Linked DNA regions of Homo sapiens: region 1 is linked to region 2. Evidence: promoter capture Hi-C in 16 types of primary human blood cells and fetal thymus (Javierre and others, 2016). All regions are on one chromosome and are shown on one strand. Each heading gives the region's core, a stretch centred on a gene start or on the middle of the fragment in contact. The rest is flanking DNA. Distances are from core to core; before and after follow the strand shown. Region 1 overlaps ATRN (attractin). Region 2 holds the start of DNAAF9 (dynein axonemal assembly factor 9).

What was found. Contacts are between HindIII fragments. The CHiCAGO score rates a contact against its expected background, and 5 or more counts as called.
Region 1: a contact is called between a fragment that was not itself captured here and the fragment with the promoter of DNAAF9 in region 2, in 2 of 17 cell types (M1 macrophages and M2 macrophages). The highest score is 5.5, in M1 macrophages.

Annotation. Positions count from the first base shown.
Region 1 is chr20:3,563,286-3,570,453 of GRCh38, reverse strand. ATRN (attractin) reads right to left here. Exons shown (of 29, transcript NM_139321.3): 10 at 7,091-7,168; 11 at 5,022-5,106. Among named protein-coding and RNA genes, the nearest start is that of ATRN, 96 kb to the right of the region's middle. The HindIII fragment of the contact is 1,611 bases long and covers 1,668-3,278 here.
Region 2 is chr20:3,402,952-3,410,149 of GRCh38, reverse strand. DNAAF9 (dynein axonemal assembly factor 9) reads left to right here and starts at 2,481. Exons shown (of 37, transcript NM_001009984.3): 1 at 2,481-2,675. The coding sequence starts at 2,593. RefSeq lists enhancers at 1,080-1,581, 1,958-2,157 and silencers at 2,148-2,397, 2,438-2,677, 2,738-2,817. The HindIII fragment of the contact is 11,473 bases long and covers 1-7,198 here.

The DNA.
Region 1 (7,168 bases), core at 1,224-3,723, 160 kb before region 2:
TAAACAAAGGGAAAGAAATAAACCTATGAAGTGATCTTGCCAAAATACTGAAGTGAATCTGATCAAGTTAATTTGTAGGAAGTTTAGGAGAGAGACCAATATGTTATATGAAAGCCCAGGATACAATAATCAAAATCTGGACTACGGGAAACTCTACAGGACAAACAACCCAGTCTCTTTAACAAGTAAGGGGGAAAATGATGGATGGGGTCCCTACAGATCAAGAGAAACTTCAGAGACATTTTAACCAATTGTAACATATGGATCTTATTTGGATTCTGAGTTGAACAAACTAAACTTAAAAAAAAAATTGAGACAATTAGGAGATGTAAACACTGAATGGACACTGAGAGATATTAAAGAACAACTTTTTTTTTTTTTTTGAGTTAGAGTCTTGCTCCATTACTCAGACTGGAGTGCAACAGCACCATCATAGCTCAGTGCAACCTCAAATTCCTGGGCTCAAGCAATCCTCCCACCTCAACCTCCTGAGTAGTTGGGACAACAGGCACGCACCACCATGACCAGCTAATTTTTGTATTTCTAGTAGAGATGAGGTCTTGCTGTGTTGCCCAGGCTGGTGTTGAACTCCTGGACTCAAGCAATCCTCCTGCCTTGGCCTCCCAAAGCGCTGGGATTACAGGCGTGAGCCACCACCCCTGGCTTAAAGAATAAAAGTGTAATAACTGCATAGGGGTTGTGTTTTAAAAATTAAGTCTTCATCTTTAAAAGACAGCCAATCCTCATTATAGTCATGTATGTGGTCCTGCATAACGATGTTTCCATCAATGATGGATGGCATGTACAATGGTTGTCATCTAGTAATCTAAGGTTAATTTATTATTGAAGAAAACAATTTTAAAATAAATTTAGTGTAGCCTAAGTGTACAGTTCACAAAGTCTACAGTAGTGTACAGTCTACTCACTCACAGACCTCCCCAGAACAATTTCCAGTCCTGTATGCTCCCTCTCTTCATAGTAAGTGGCCTGTACAGGTGTACATTTTTTTATCTTTTATATTGCATTTTTACTGTACCTTCTCTATGTTTAGATATGCTTGGACACACAAATACTTACATTGCATTACAATGACCTACAGTATTGAGTATAGTAACATGCTGCACAGGCTTGTAGCTAGGAGCAACAAGCCATACCATATAGCCTAGATGTGTAGCCTAAGTTTATGTAAGTACACTCTGTGATGTTGGCACAATGATGAAATTGCCTAAGGATGCACTTCTCAGAATGTATCCCTATCATTCAGTGACACATGACCATATCTGCAGATTGTAGATTCCATATTTGCAAATTCACGTACTTATAAAATCTATTTCTAATTCCAAAATCAATACTTGCAGTAGTTTCATGGTCATTTACCAGCATGTGTGTGCAAAGAATGGCAAAAAATTTGAGTTGACACACATGCATATTACCGGCTAAGGTCAAACAAGGAGATGCTCTCCCTTCTTGTTTCAACTATCATACTACAAACAAGTGTCCCTTCCATGATGTATCTAGTGCCATGTTTTATGCATTTTTGTGCCTTATGTTAGTGCTTTCACTGCTGAAAATGGCCCCCTATGCAGTGCTGAAGTGCTGTCTAGTGTTCCTAAGTGTAAGAAGGCTGTGACGAGCCTTACTGAGAAAATACGTGTGTTACATAAGCTTTGTTCAGGCATGAGTTAAAGTGCTGTTGGCTGTGAGCTCAATGTTAATAAATCAAGAATATATATTCAACAAGATGTTTTTAAATAGAAACACACATAAAAGAAAGTTATGTATGCTGACTGGTTGATGAAAATGTCATCAGAGGTTTATAGAAACATAACCCTGTATTTCCCCTAGGAGCAATAATTCAATATTCAAGAATTCAGTGTTTATAGTTACTTTATAGAGTTGTGAAAAATGAAAACAAATTGTTATCTGAAATATATTTTTTTTGAGTTAGGGTCTCACTCTGTCACCCAGGCTGGAGTGCAGTGGCGTCATCATAGCTCACTGCAGCCTCAAACTCCTGGGCTCAAGTGATCCTCCTGCCTTAGCCTCCCAAAGTGCTGGGATAACAGGCATGAGCCACCATGCCTGGCCTAATCTGAAATATTTACTGGTAGATTTCAAAAACTAAAAAATTAATATAAGGTTTCTTTCTCTTTTTTTTTTTTTTGACACAGTCTCGCTCTGTTGCCCAGGCTGGAGTGCAGTGGCGCGATCTCAGCTCACTGCAAGCTCCACCTCCTGGGGTTCACATCATTCTCCTGCCTCAGCCTCCCGAGAAGCTGGGACTACATGCGCCCGCCACCACGCCCAGCTAATTTTTTTGTACTTTTAGTAGAGATGGAGTTTCACAGTGTTAGCCAGGATAGTCTTGATCTCCTGACCTCGTGATCCACCCGCCTCGGCCTCCCAAAGTGCTGGGATTACAAGCGTGAGCCACTACGCCCGGCCAGGTTTCATTTTTTACCTTGCTATAGGCTTACTCAGTACCACATTAAGCAGGCTAGATTCAACTAGTTAATTTGTTGCTTAAACCAAATAAGCAACCTCCTCTTCCCAGTACAGTTGGTGTTCTCAGCAATTGTGAATCCATCTGGTTGCACAGGGGCTCTGCAAAGTTAGGGAGAGTCTCTCAGAGACACATGGAGCAGGCAACTGAGAGGCACAGCTGCATCTCCTGCCGCCTTGGTATGTCACAGCCATCTCTCCTCCTCCTTCCTGCCTCCCTCAAAACCTCAATGAAAACCAAGGAAGGCACAGCTCACCCAATGCTGTTGATCCACTTAAAGCATGAAGAAATGCTGTGAATCGAAGTTTCTTTTTCAGTAAATTATTTCATAAAATTAAACCAAAACTATGGCCTTTTAGTAGCTGGCCTCCCTCAGGGTCTCCTGCCACCTACCCAATCCTGTCTCACACACACAGATACTTACATATCAGGGTTCAAACATACCACTGGAATCACATAAAATGAAAACATTACAACTCAGGCAAGGCATTCCCAATTTTGACTCATGATTAAATTATATTTTATGGTAAAGTCTCAACTTCTCTGAGTTTGAATAAAACCTAAGAATGTTTTATAAAAAATTCATTTGTTTGCTAGTTATGACTGTACTAATACCTGCCATTTAGCAAATGTCTATTATGTGCCAAATCCTGTGCTAGGAGAACTAGGAACACAAACGAAGACAGTTGAGGCCAGGCTCCCACAGGCATGATAATGACAAAATGGTCCCACTGCGTTTCAGATGAAAATCTCAAGAGGCACTTGCTAGAAAGCTTTAAGGGTCTTCTGTACTGAGGAAGTTCAAGATTATGATTTATAATAACACTTCAAATTAGCAAGGTGGCCAGAAATCCTTCCATTTTAGTCTCTAGCTGTCAAATGTTCTCATAGTAAAACCATACACATTGCTAAAAAACGAAATAATTACCTTATATAAGATAGCACCTTTTCCTAGTAGCTAGTTCCTAAATTGTCTCAACTCTTCCTTCACAACATCTCCAAAATATGTCACCTTCTCACTTTTCCTTTTTTTTTTTTTTTTTTTTGAGATGGAGTCTCGCTGTCGCCCAGGCTGGAATGCAGTGGCATAATCTTGGCTCACTGCAATTTCCGCCTCCTGGGTTCAAGTGATTCTCCTGCCTCAGCCTCCCAAGTAGCTGGGACTACAGGTGCCTACCACCACACCTGGCTAATTGTTTTGTATTTTAGGAAGAGACGGGGGTTTTGCCATGTTGACCAGGGTGGTCTGGAACTCCTGGGCTCAAGTGATCGGCCCTCCTCGGCCTCCCAAAGTGCTGGGATTACAGGCGTGAGCCACCGTGCCCGGCCTCTCATCTTTCCTAATCTAAGTGAAATTACCTCATCTGTCTTCCATCGTTACAACAGAAATTTCAAAAGCCAAAGGAATTCTAACATGATGCAGGCATTATAACGCTTAAACATCCTTAGGATTTATATGGCTTAGAATTTTAAAAAAGGGAAAGTAGACAGCAGTAGTAATAGCAGAAACTGAATGAGAAAAATTAATAATGTGATTAGGCTGTTTAACTTCTTAAAAATCTTTAAAGCACACTGTAAGGAACAAGTAGAGTGGCCACTCTGAATCTCCCTTATTTGACTGAGACTTCTCCAAGGGCCGATTTTTTGAAGAGCTCTGGTAGTTTGGGCCAGGCATTTTTGAGCGATAAAATGCAATGAACTGCAGACTTCTGATTATCCAGAGCCTACAGACTTGAGCTATATTAAACTTCACAATCTCTCCACCTCTGTTCTCCTACCTTATCCCCCCATCTGAAGTGCCCTCTCTCCTCTTTTCCAAACTTCTTACTATTCAGATACAACTACTAGGAACTTGACAACCTAAATACCACTAACAATAACAAAGGACATAAGACAATGACATGCACGTAACTTTTGTTGCCCCAGGCACTCAGACCACACCAAAAAGCATGCTCTTGCGTGCTAACAAAACCAGATCAATAAACATGGCATTCAAAGTAATTCACCTCCACATCAAATATTTTAAACATAAATCAGAAAATTTATACCCACATAATCCTGTAAAAAAACTACTGGGATGAGGGAATCTTGTGAATAATATGTTGAGTCCAATTCCACTTTACTTTTCTCTTTTTTTTTTTTTTTTTTTTTTTTGAGACAGAGTCTTGCTCTGTTGCCAGGCTGGAGTGCTGTGGCGCGATCTCGTCTCACGGCAACCTCCAACTCCCTGGTTCAAGTGATTCTCCTGCCTCAGCATCCCTCGTTCAAGCGATTCTCCTGCCTCAGCCTCCCAACTAGGGGGGATTACAGGCACGCACTACCAAGCCCAGCTAATTTTTGTACTTTTAGTAGAGATGGGTCTTTACCATGTTGGCCAGGATGGTCTTGATCTCCTGACCTCGTATTCCACCCGCCTCGGCCTCCCAAAGTGCCAGAATTACAGGCGTGAGCCACCGTGCCCGGCCCTTTATTTTCATTTTAAACACAAAAGAAAAGGAGCAATCACTTCTCCAATTACCTGTTGTGTAAGACTGCTGAATGGCCAAATCTGTTGACATCATGGTGGAGATCAGGTCTGGGAAGCACTGACCAGCGGTCACAGGCTAGGAGAAAGAAAAATATATTTTTAAACGGACTACCATTTCTAATCAACAGGACCTGACATTTTCTTTGGGAAAAATACTACAACAAAGAGAACCTCATAAAACATGCCTCTCAATTTTCTCAGTTACAACATCATTTCTGGGTTAAAATGAAGCAGCAGCAGAGCAACAGGGCATGGAAGAAAGGCGGGATCATACCACAATTCTAACTAGCAAACGCACCCGAAATCCATGACATCTGGATCACTCACCCAACTGCCTATCAGTTTGATGCACTAGAATTGAGACAGAGTCTCGCTCTGTCACCCAGGCTGGAGTGCAGTGGTGTGATCTCAGCTCACTGCAAGCTCCTCCTCCCAGGTTCACGCCATTCTCCTGCCTCATCCTCCCAAGTAGCTGGGCCTATAGGCGCCTGCCACCATGCCTGGCTAATTTTTTTTATTTTTAGTAGAGATGGGGTTTCACCGTGTTAGCCAGGATAGTCTCAATCTCCTGACCTCGTGATCTGCCCACCTGGGCCTCCCAAAGTGCTGGGATTACAGGCATGAACCACCACGCCCAGCCAAGAATGTTTTTTAAAGCAAGCAAATTTTACATTCTACAAAGCTTATGTCAGCAAAACATGGGTTTCATAATTATTTTCCACTCTTTTCTATATTGATTTGCTCAAATTTAGTAGCTAAAATGGAAAAATAAAGGTGGAAAATGAAATTTCAAGAAATTTAAATGTCACCTAATTTTTACAAAGTCCTTTCCTAGATCCCATAGATTGATTAATTTTCCCTTGTTGTGACCCATACTAGCAACTTCTCTTCTGGATCTAATACCAACTGGTGCTGCTATACCATGCCAACCTCACACTCAGTGTCTCACTCTTTGAGCCCTTAAATATGTGCCGGTCTTTTCCACCTCTGTGTCTCTGCAAACTGGGTTTCCTCTGCCTGGAGAGTGCTGCCTAACTTCACCTACCTGACACCTAGTGTCCCCAAGGACCCAGAGAGGATGGCCCCTCCTTAAGAAAGTGTTCCCTGTTTATCACTCTACCCTCCATGACTTAAAGGGTACTCAGAGGTGCTCTCATACATTCTTTTCAGCCAGAAACACCCTGAAGTGCAATTCTATTGTCTGCTCATTTCTCTACCTCTTCTACTTTGAGGCTAAGGGCTTTAAGTTATTCATCTGATCTCCTCAATGTACAAACTGAGTGGCTGGCACACAAATGTCTGTTAAAAACGAATGTCTGACTTGGAATAGTCAAAATCACAGAGACAGACTGTAGAATAGTGGTTGCCAGGCATTGTGGGGAGGAAGAAATGGGACATTATTGTTTAATGGGTATACAGCTTCAGTCTTACAAGATGAAGACAGTTCTGAAGATGGATGGCGGTGATGGATTTATAACATTATGAATGTGTTTAGTATCACTAAACTAGACATTTAAATATAGTTAGGATGGTAAATTTTATGTGTATTTTACCACAATCAAAAAAATAATAATTTGTTTAAAATGAACATCTGACAATTTTTATGAAAGAGATCATCCGGTATGCATTTGCTTTGCATGAACAAATACTGCCCTCTTCTGGTCTGGTATATTGCCACACCAAGACCATGTGAGAAACCAGTTTTCTAGGGAATGAGATAAAGCTAATACGTGAACCAATTTTAACACAATGCTGGTGGTTGCAACTATGTAACACTACCAGGTAGGCATAACATGACAAAGGAGAGACTAGACACCTCAACTCAGCCTTAAAAATTAGCATTCAAGCAATTAACAGGAGTGATTTCAAAAAGAATTTAATGTAGAAATAATTTTTACCAGATGTGTAACATTAGTCAAATGAATATAAAAAATACCATTTGGACCTCTTTCAAATGGCCTGATCATTTTGAACTGGCAATATTTTCAGTCTCCTTTTAAATGCTGCTTATAGTATAGGCAAAAAGATGCCTGAAGAGAAAATGGTTTTGGGAAACTTACCAATGTCATAGGCCATGAAATCTGAAGAGAAGCATTTGGCGCCATGGCTCATAGATGTGTCATTGTGTGTGTTTCCTC
Region 2 (7,198 bases), core at 1,232-3,731:
AATTATAATATAAATATATATTTTTATAAATAAACTATATATATATAGAGAGAGAGAGACAGAGAGATGAGGTTTTGCCACGTTGCCCAGGCTGGTCTCAAACTCTTGGGCTCAAGAAATCCACTTGTCTTAGTCTCCCAAATTGCTGGGACTGCAGGCGTGCACCACCACGTGTAGCCCCGTTGAATTGTTTTTAGAGCTGATTTTCAGAGCTTTTGCACCGATGGGAAGTTATCTCTAAATAATGGTGGTTACTTGTTCATGACTCTGGACTTGAGCTAAAAAATTGATCACTGCAAGCATAGAAAGAATTGAAAGAGTTGTATTTGATAAATCTCATGACGGTGTCATAGCGTCTGTCATAAGTCCAAACTCATACCAAATAGTAACTGGGAATTGAATCTTGAGCTGTGAACTTTGAACTCGGACAAAACAATAAATTGAACTCAATATCTGATGCAAAAAAAAAGTGAATTTCTTCTCTGCTTGCAAGGGAGAGCGGTACTTGTAAGGTACAGCCTCTCTGAACAAAGCCAGAGCTGATCTTATAAAAGGTTTTGAAGGCCGGGCGCGGCTCACGCCTGTAATACCAGCACTTTGGGAGGCCAAGGCTGGCGATTCACTTGAGGCCAGGAGTTCAAGACCAGCCTGGCCAACATGGCGAAACTCTGTCTCTACTAAAAATACAAAAAATTAGCCAGGCTTGGTGGCACAGGCCTGTAATCCCAGCTACTTGGGAAGCTGAGGCACAAGAATCGCTTGAACCAGGAGGCAGAGGTTGCAGTGATCTGAGATCACGCCACTGCACTCCAGCCTGAGCAACAGAGTGCGACTCTGTCTCCAAAAAAAAAGGAGAAAAAGAAAAAAAAGGCCGGGCGCGATGGCTCAGGCCTGTAATCCCAGCACTTTGGGAGGCCAAGGCAGGCGGATCAACTGAGGTCAGGAGTTTGAGACCAGTCTGGCCAACATGGCAAAACCCGTCTCTACTAAAAATACAAAAATGAGCCAGGCGTGGTGGCGGGAGCCTGTAATCCCAGCTACTCGGTAGGCTGAGGTAGGAGAATCGCTTGAACCGGGAGGCAGAGGTTGCAGTGAGCCGAGATCGCGCCACTGCACTCCAGCCTGGGCGACAGAATGAGACTCAGTCTGGGAAAGAAAAAAAAATGGTTTTGGAAATATTCGCCTTCAGGGATTGGCTGTCTTTCCGAATCAGAAGTGGAGTGCGGCAGCTGAGTACCCACTGACTTTCGGAAGCCTGGTCGCTGGTGTCAGGCACTTGTTGATTGGCTATTGTCGGAGGCTTAGAGCGGTCACTGATTGGCTGACTTTCAGAAGCGTGGGGTTGTCATTGATTTACTAAGAAGCATAGTTACCGGAGTGAGGCTATCGCTGATTGGCTGATTTTCAGAGCTGCTGCACCGACGAGAAGTTATCTCTAAATAATGGTGGTTATTTGTTCACGACTCCGGACTTGAGCTAAAAAAGTATTTTCCTTTCTTGAATATGAAAGACGAGCACTTTAAATTCCTACTCCCTTCTGGTCTTCCCTCAGCCAAACCTGAAGGAGACACCATAGGGATTGTCCAAATCTTCATTAGTGTAGGAAGGATTTTCAGCCAGTGTTGTAATTTAAGTGATCTAGCACCAATTACTGTGGGAGAAAAATAGCTCTAATTATTGCAATTTAGTGTAAAAAGATGAATACAGGACATTTAAGGCATTCCGACGAGGTCAACGAAGGACGCAGGCCAATAATCATTAAATACGTCCTGTATATACAGGACTCCTGGCAACTATCAGTGCAGTATTTCCCAAGTTTCTTGTACATGTCCCTGCAGAAACCGGTAGAGCTAGGATCTTAACAGTAAAGGTTAGGGGTCTTCTGGGATCCTGTGCGCCTCTAACGCTCATGCCCTGCGCAGGGCTGGGTGCGCACTGCTGCGCTAACCCGAGGCCGGCTAGGAATCTATTGGATGTTTGAAGGGTGGGTGCGGAATTGATGACCAGGAAGCGGGAAGACACCGTTCCGGAGAACAGGGAAGCGAGCCGGGTACTGGGGAGGTGCGCTGGGTACTGGGGAGGTGCGCTGGATCCTGACGCCGGAGCGGAAGACTTCGCTGGAGGCCGGGGCTGGTCGGGCGGGGCGGGGCGGGCAGAGGCGGAGGGGCGGGGCCGGGCTGGGAGAGGCTCCGCCCCCGGGCGCGTCCGTGTGCGTGGCCGGGGGGCGCCGCGCAGAGCCCCGCTCTATGATGCCGGGCTTGAGGACGAGGCCGGGCGGCGCTGTGGCAACCCTCACCCTGCGGACACGCGCTCCCAACATCCGGTCCGGCGGCCTCGCAGCTTAAGAAGTGGGGTCCCTGTGGCCGTGCGCCGACCCCCAACTCCAGCCGCTCCCAACGCCCCCATCCGCTCTCGGTGCGCGCGCCCCCTCCACGCCCCCGCCCCCGCCCCCGCCGGGCCCGCGCGCCGCGCCCCCTCCCACCCGGCACGCCCTGCCGCCCCGCCCGGCCGCAGCTAGCGTGGAGCCGCCCTGCGGGCAACTGAGACCCTCGCAGCTGCACCGTCCTCCTCCGCCGCCAGTCGTCCGCCGCCATGGACGTGTACCCCCCGCGCCGGCAGGGGCTGCCCCGCGCTCGGTCCCCTGGCGGCTCCAGCCGCGGGTCACCCTCCGTCAGGTACGCGGGGCAGAGGCAGCCGAGGGGCGGCCGGGCGGGGGATGCGGGCTGTCGGGGTCCGGCGACGCCTCCCGCCGCAGGGCGTGGTCCGACATGGCTTCCTCGGGACGGTTCTTTGCTGAACGGCTCAGGGAGGAATTTTTCCCAGGAACGGCGCCCTCTGTAGAGGCCCCACAATGGCTCCCCTTTGGACAACCCCGCAACGGTTTCCCCACAATGGCTCCCCCACAGACAACCCTGCAACGGTTTCCCCACAATGGCTTCCCTAGGGACAGCGATTCCCTGTGAAGACACTGTTATGACGTCCTCACCCCCATAGAACGTTTCTCCCAGGAAGGATTCTTCTACACAGAACCCCACAGAGGCTTCCCTATGAATAACTCACTCGCCTTCCCCAGGGAATGTTTCCCTCAGAAACTGCTACTCTACAGACCTCACACCTCCACACACACAATAGCTCCCTCGTGTAGAACCCCCAAATGGATTACCTAGAAAGCCCCCTCCCGTGGGTCTCTAGAGCCTTTGCCCTTGACAACGGCTTCCTTAAAGAGTGTCCCCCGCCCCCTACGTACATAATGACAGCATCTCCCCTGTCGCGCGTTTCCCCAGCTCCCCCTGCCTCAGCCTGCATCGCGACGCCCCCTCACTCCACAATAGGGAGCTCGGGTTGGGAGGAAGTAGAGGTATTAGGGACGCAGGAGGAAAAACTGGATAAATAGGGGAAAGAGGCCTAGAACCTCCGAAAGCGGCGGACGCCAGGCCCCTTACCGTAGAGACACAGTCCCAAGCTACCTCAGTATGGGGAGGGGGTGATCGTGGGGAGCGTTCCCCGCCCCCTTTAGATATAGGAAGATCCGTTTCCGATTTCTGTGCCCTATGCGTTTGGTGCTGATCTTGTTGGTCTGGGCATTGTTTGTGATGGAGCTGGTGTGGGGCGCCGGCGCAGTGTGGAGGTTGGAATGATGGAGGGGTTGCAGCAGAGACCTTTGAGAAGGAGAGGGAGAGGGGGAATGCGAGCGATGAGCTTTGGTACTGCTAAACTGTCATTAAAACAGGAGAGGGTTTTGTTGTTGTTTGCTTTTTCTTATTCTAGCCACATAGCAAAGCAAATATATTGTTCCCTTGAAAGGAGGTTGCCAATCTACATGTTAAAACAGTTTTCTTATATTCTTGTTATGGTACTTAAGGCATATGTTTTAACTTTGCTTGCTGATCTGATTTTTGGGGTTGTTTGTTTGCTTTAACTAGACCAAATTATTGGAGAACAAGAAACTGATTCTTAGAAACCTGTTTCTTTTTTACTTCCCTGCATTCCTTTCCACAACCCAGAATCCAGTATATGTTTGTTGAACAAATAAAGGATAGAGAAGGTGGGGGGTAGATACCAATGAAACATTGCATTTAGGAGTCCTAAATTGCTTCGAATCTGTCAGGTGACATTTTTGAACTCCTGCTCTGCCCTTCAGTGTAATTCCTTGTGGGCTTTACAGTTCCAAGTTTAACTGCTTATAGTAACGCATCTCCAATCCTTTGCAACATTTCTGCCAGTTTCACTGTCTGAAGCAGAAAGTATTTGAACTTGTATAGACATTGCATAGGATACTTTAGAACAGCCATCCGTTAAATCTAGGCTCTGTGTGGACTTGAGGTTTATCCCAGATCATCTTGAGCTTAGGAATTTGGATTTGAGTCTGTTGAGATCTTTAGGGGGAAAAAAATCATCTCTACCTTAGAATCTGTCTCTTAAATGCTGCCTTTCTTGTTTTTAGTAGCATGGCCATGTGCTTTTTATTTATTCTTTTAAAGGTAGTGATTCTATGTTCAAAGAAGTATGCTGGCTCACTTTACTGATCATACCCGAACTCCAAATCTTCTATCAAGTGGTTTGAATAAAATTTGATTTCAGACAAGGAATAGTGCAAGGAACCCCAAGGCCTAGCTGCCCCCAATACCTTTGGTGAAAGAAATTTGCTGAAGGCTTCCCTCCTTTCCCCACTTCTACATGATTGAACGTGCTTTTCTTGCCCATTCAAGCCTTTCCCTTACTCTTGACATTGAATGTTACTAGCACTTTCCTGTCACCCATATATGGCTTTGCTGCTGACTGCTGAGTGATGGAAGGGGCAAACCTAACTGGTGAAGTGACATTCCTAAGACCCATAGATAGTACTCTGCAAGTGTATGGTTCTAGCACGGTAGTTCATTTTCACAGATGGAGAATGGAGATCAAGAATTAAAATATTGTTACTCAGAATGAGAGGCTTCTCTTTAAGCATGTGATAGTCATCAGTCTTACCAGGTATTTTTGGTTTCTGTCTCTTGAGCATGTAGTAGAATTTTACTTGCTTGCTTCTTTGAAGTTAGGTATGGCCTTAAGAGTTGCTTTTGGTCAGTGAAATGCGTGGGAATACTGTGTAGCCTTTCATGGTACAAATTTCTGTTGTGTAGTTTTCCATTCTCTTTCCTTCTGTCATGGTAGCTGTTGGGGCTGCAAATGGCAGCCACCCATCAGTCAAGGCCCCAGAGCTAGCTTCCAGGTGACCTATGCTTGACAGGTAGGTTGAGCAAGAAGTGAAACACCACCGGGATTTTGGACTTATTACCAAGGTATAAACTAACCTATCTGGATCAATGCTAAGGAACCAGTGGAAATCTAGCTGAAAGATACTTTCTACTTCAAAATGTTTTTCTGTAGAGCGATCTGTTCCTGCTTGAAACTTCTTTAATAGTTTAAATTTCACTGTTTATTTATATAAATTATGCAACAAGTACTCTGTTAGGTGCTGTAGAGTCAGATAAATACAGCAGTCCCCTGCCCTCAAATAACTCTTTTGTAAAGGGGAAGAGACAGTAACAGTAGAAATCATAATATAGAATAGTGAGTCATAAGTACTGAGGAAGAAATACGGCCGAAAGAACAATAATACAAGAAGGCCTAGTCGGTTTTTGCCTCAGCTATTGAAAGAATGGAGTTGCCATTTATTAGTATTAAGAACACTAGAAGAAGAAAAGGCAGTGTAGCAGTGTCTTCCAAGTTCTGAGAGAAAATGGTTTCCTACCTCTGAGGTGGGAGAATAATTGAGAACAGACATTGAAAGCCGAATGAGATTGTTGACAGTGTGATGAGAACTAGTAATCAGGCTGGGCACGGTGGCTCACGCCTGTAATCCCAGCACTTTGAGAGGCCAAGGTGGGTGGATCACCTGAGGTCAGGAGTTTGAGACCAGCCTGACCAACATGGTGAAACCCCACCTCTACTAAAAATACACACAAAAAAATTAGCTGGGCATGGTGGCAGGCACCTGTAGTCCCAGCTACTCGGGAGCCTGAGGCAGGAGAATCACCTGAACCTGGGAGGTGGAGGTTGCAGTGAGCCAAGATCTTGCCATTGCACTCCAGTGTGGGCAACAAGAGTGAAACTCCATCTCAAGAAAACAAAAGGACTAATAATAGACAATTAGATTCGATAATGTGGAGGGTCACTAGTGACCTTGACAAGAACAGTTTTGGTGCAGTGGGTTCAAGAGAAAATGAAGCCAGTCACCTGTAGGTCAGCTACTCGGAAGGCTGAGGTGGGAGGATCCCTTGAGTCCAGGAATTCAAGTCCAGTCTGGGCAACATAGCAAGACCCCTGTCTCTAAAAAACATAAATTGATTAATTTACAAAGCAGAAAATGAGAGGAGAATTGAAGACACTGAATATAGACAGTCATATTGATGTTCTTTTGAGGATGGTTATAAGGAGAGTAGAGTAATGGGGCTGTAGTTGGAAGATCATGAGGTGTCGAGTTCTTTTTGTTTTTATATGGGCAGATATTATAGCATGTTTGTAAATTGATGGGCTGATGCAGTAGGGAGGGACAATTGATGATTAAAGAGAAGTGACACTTGCAAGGGTGAAGTCCTTGAGTAGGTAAGATGGAATGGGATCTAGTATGTAAATGGGGATGTTGGCCTCAAGTTAGACAGGAGCAATGCCAACAATTCATTGGTGGCAGATTATGTGAACCCAAATGCTGGTAGCTTGTTGGTGGGAGAAAGTGGAAGTTCTCTTCTGATTACTTCTGTATTCTCAGGTAAATAAGAAGGAAGGTCTTCAGCTAAAAATGAAGAGAGGTGTTGGATTCATCCAAGAGAATGGGGAAGAATGAGTTGAAAATAAGGAAAAGTTTTAGGATTTCCAGGCAGCACCTAGTGCCCATTTGATGTTTGTAGTTGTAAACCTAGGTGAGACCCTACTTAGCATAGTTGTACACTTTTCCTGCAGCTGTGTTGAGCTGCTTGGATGTGGCAATGTGGAAGGGAATAGCTGAAGTAGGATGGAGGACACCACCATTGGAAGTGGGGGAATCAAGGCACTGAGAGGTAAAGATTGTGGTGAAGATTGAGGTTATCATAAATTAACAGAATGACCTAGGGACCTGTAGATGTCTGTAACAGGGAGAGATAGCAGGTAGTTATTGTTTGAAGACATGAAGAAATGATAAAAAAATAAATACATTCCTTAGAACCAAAGGACATAC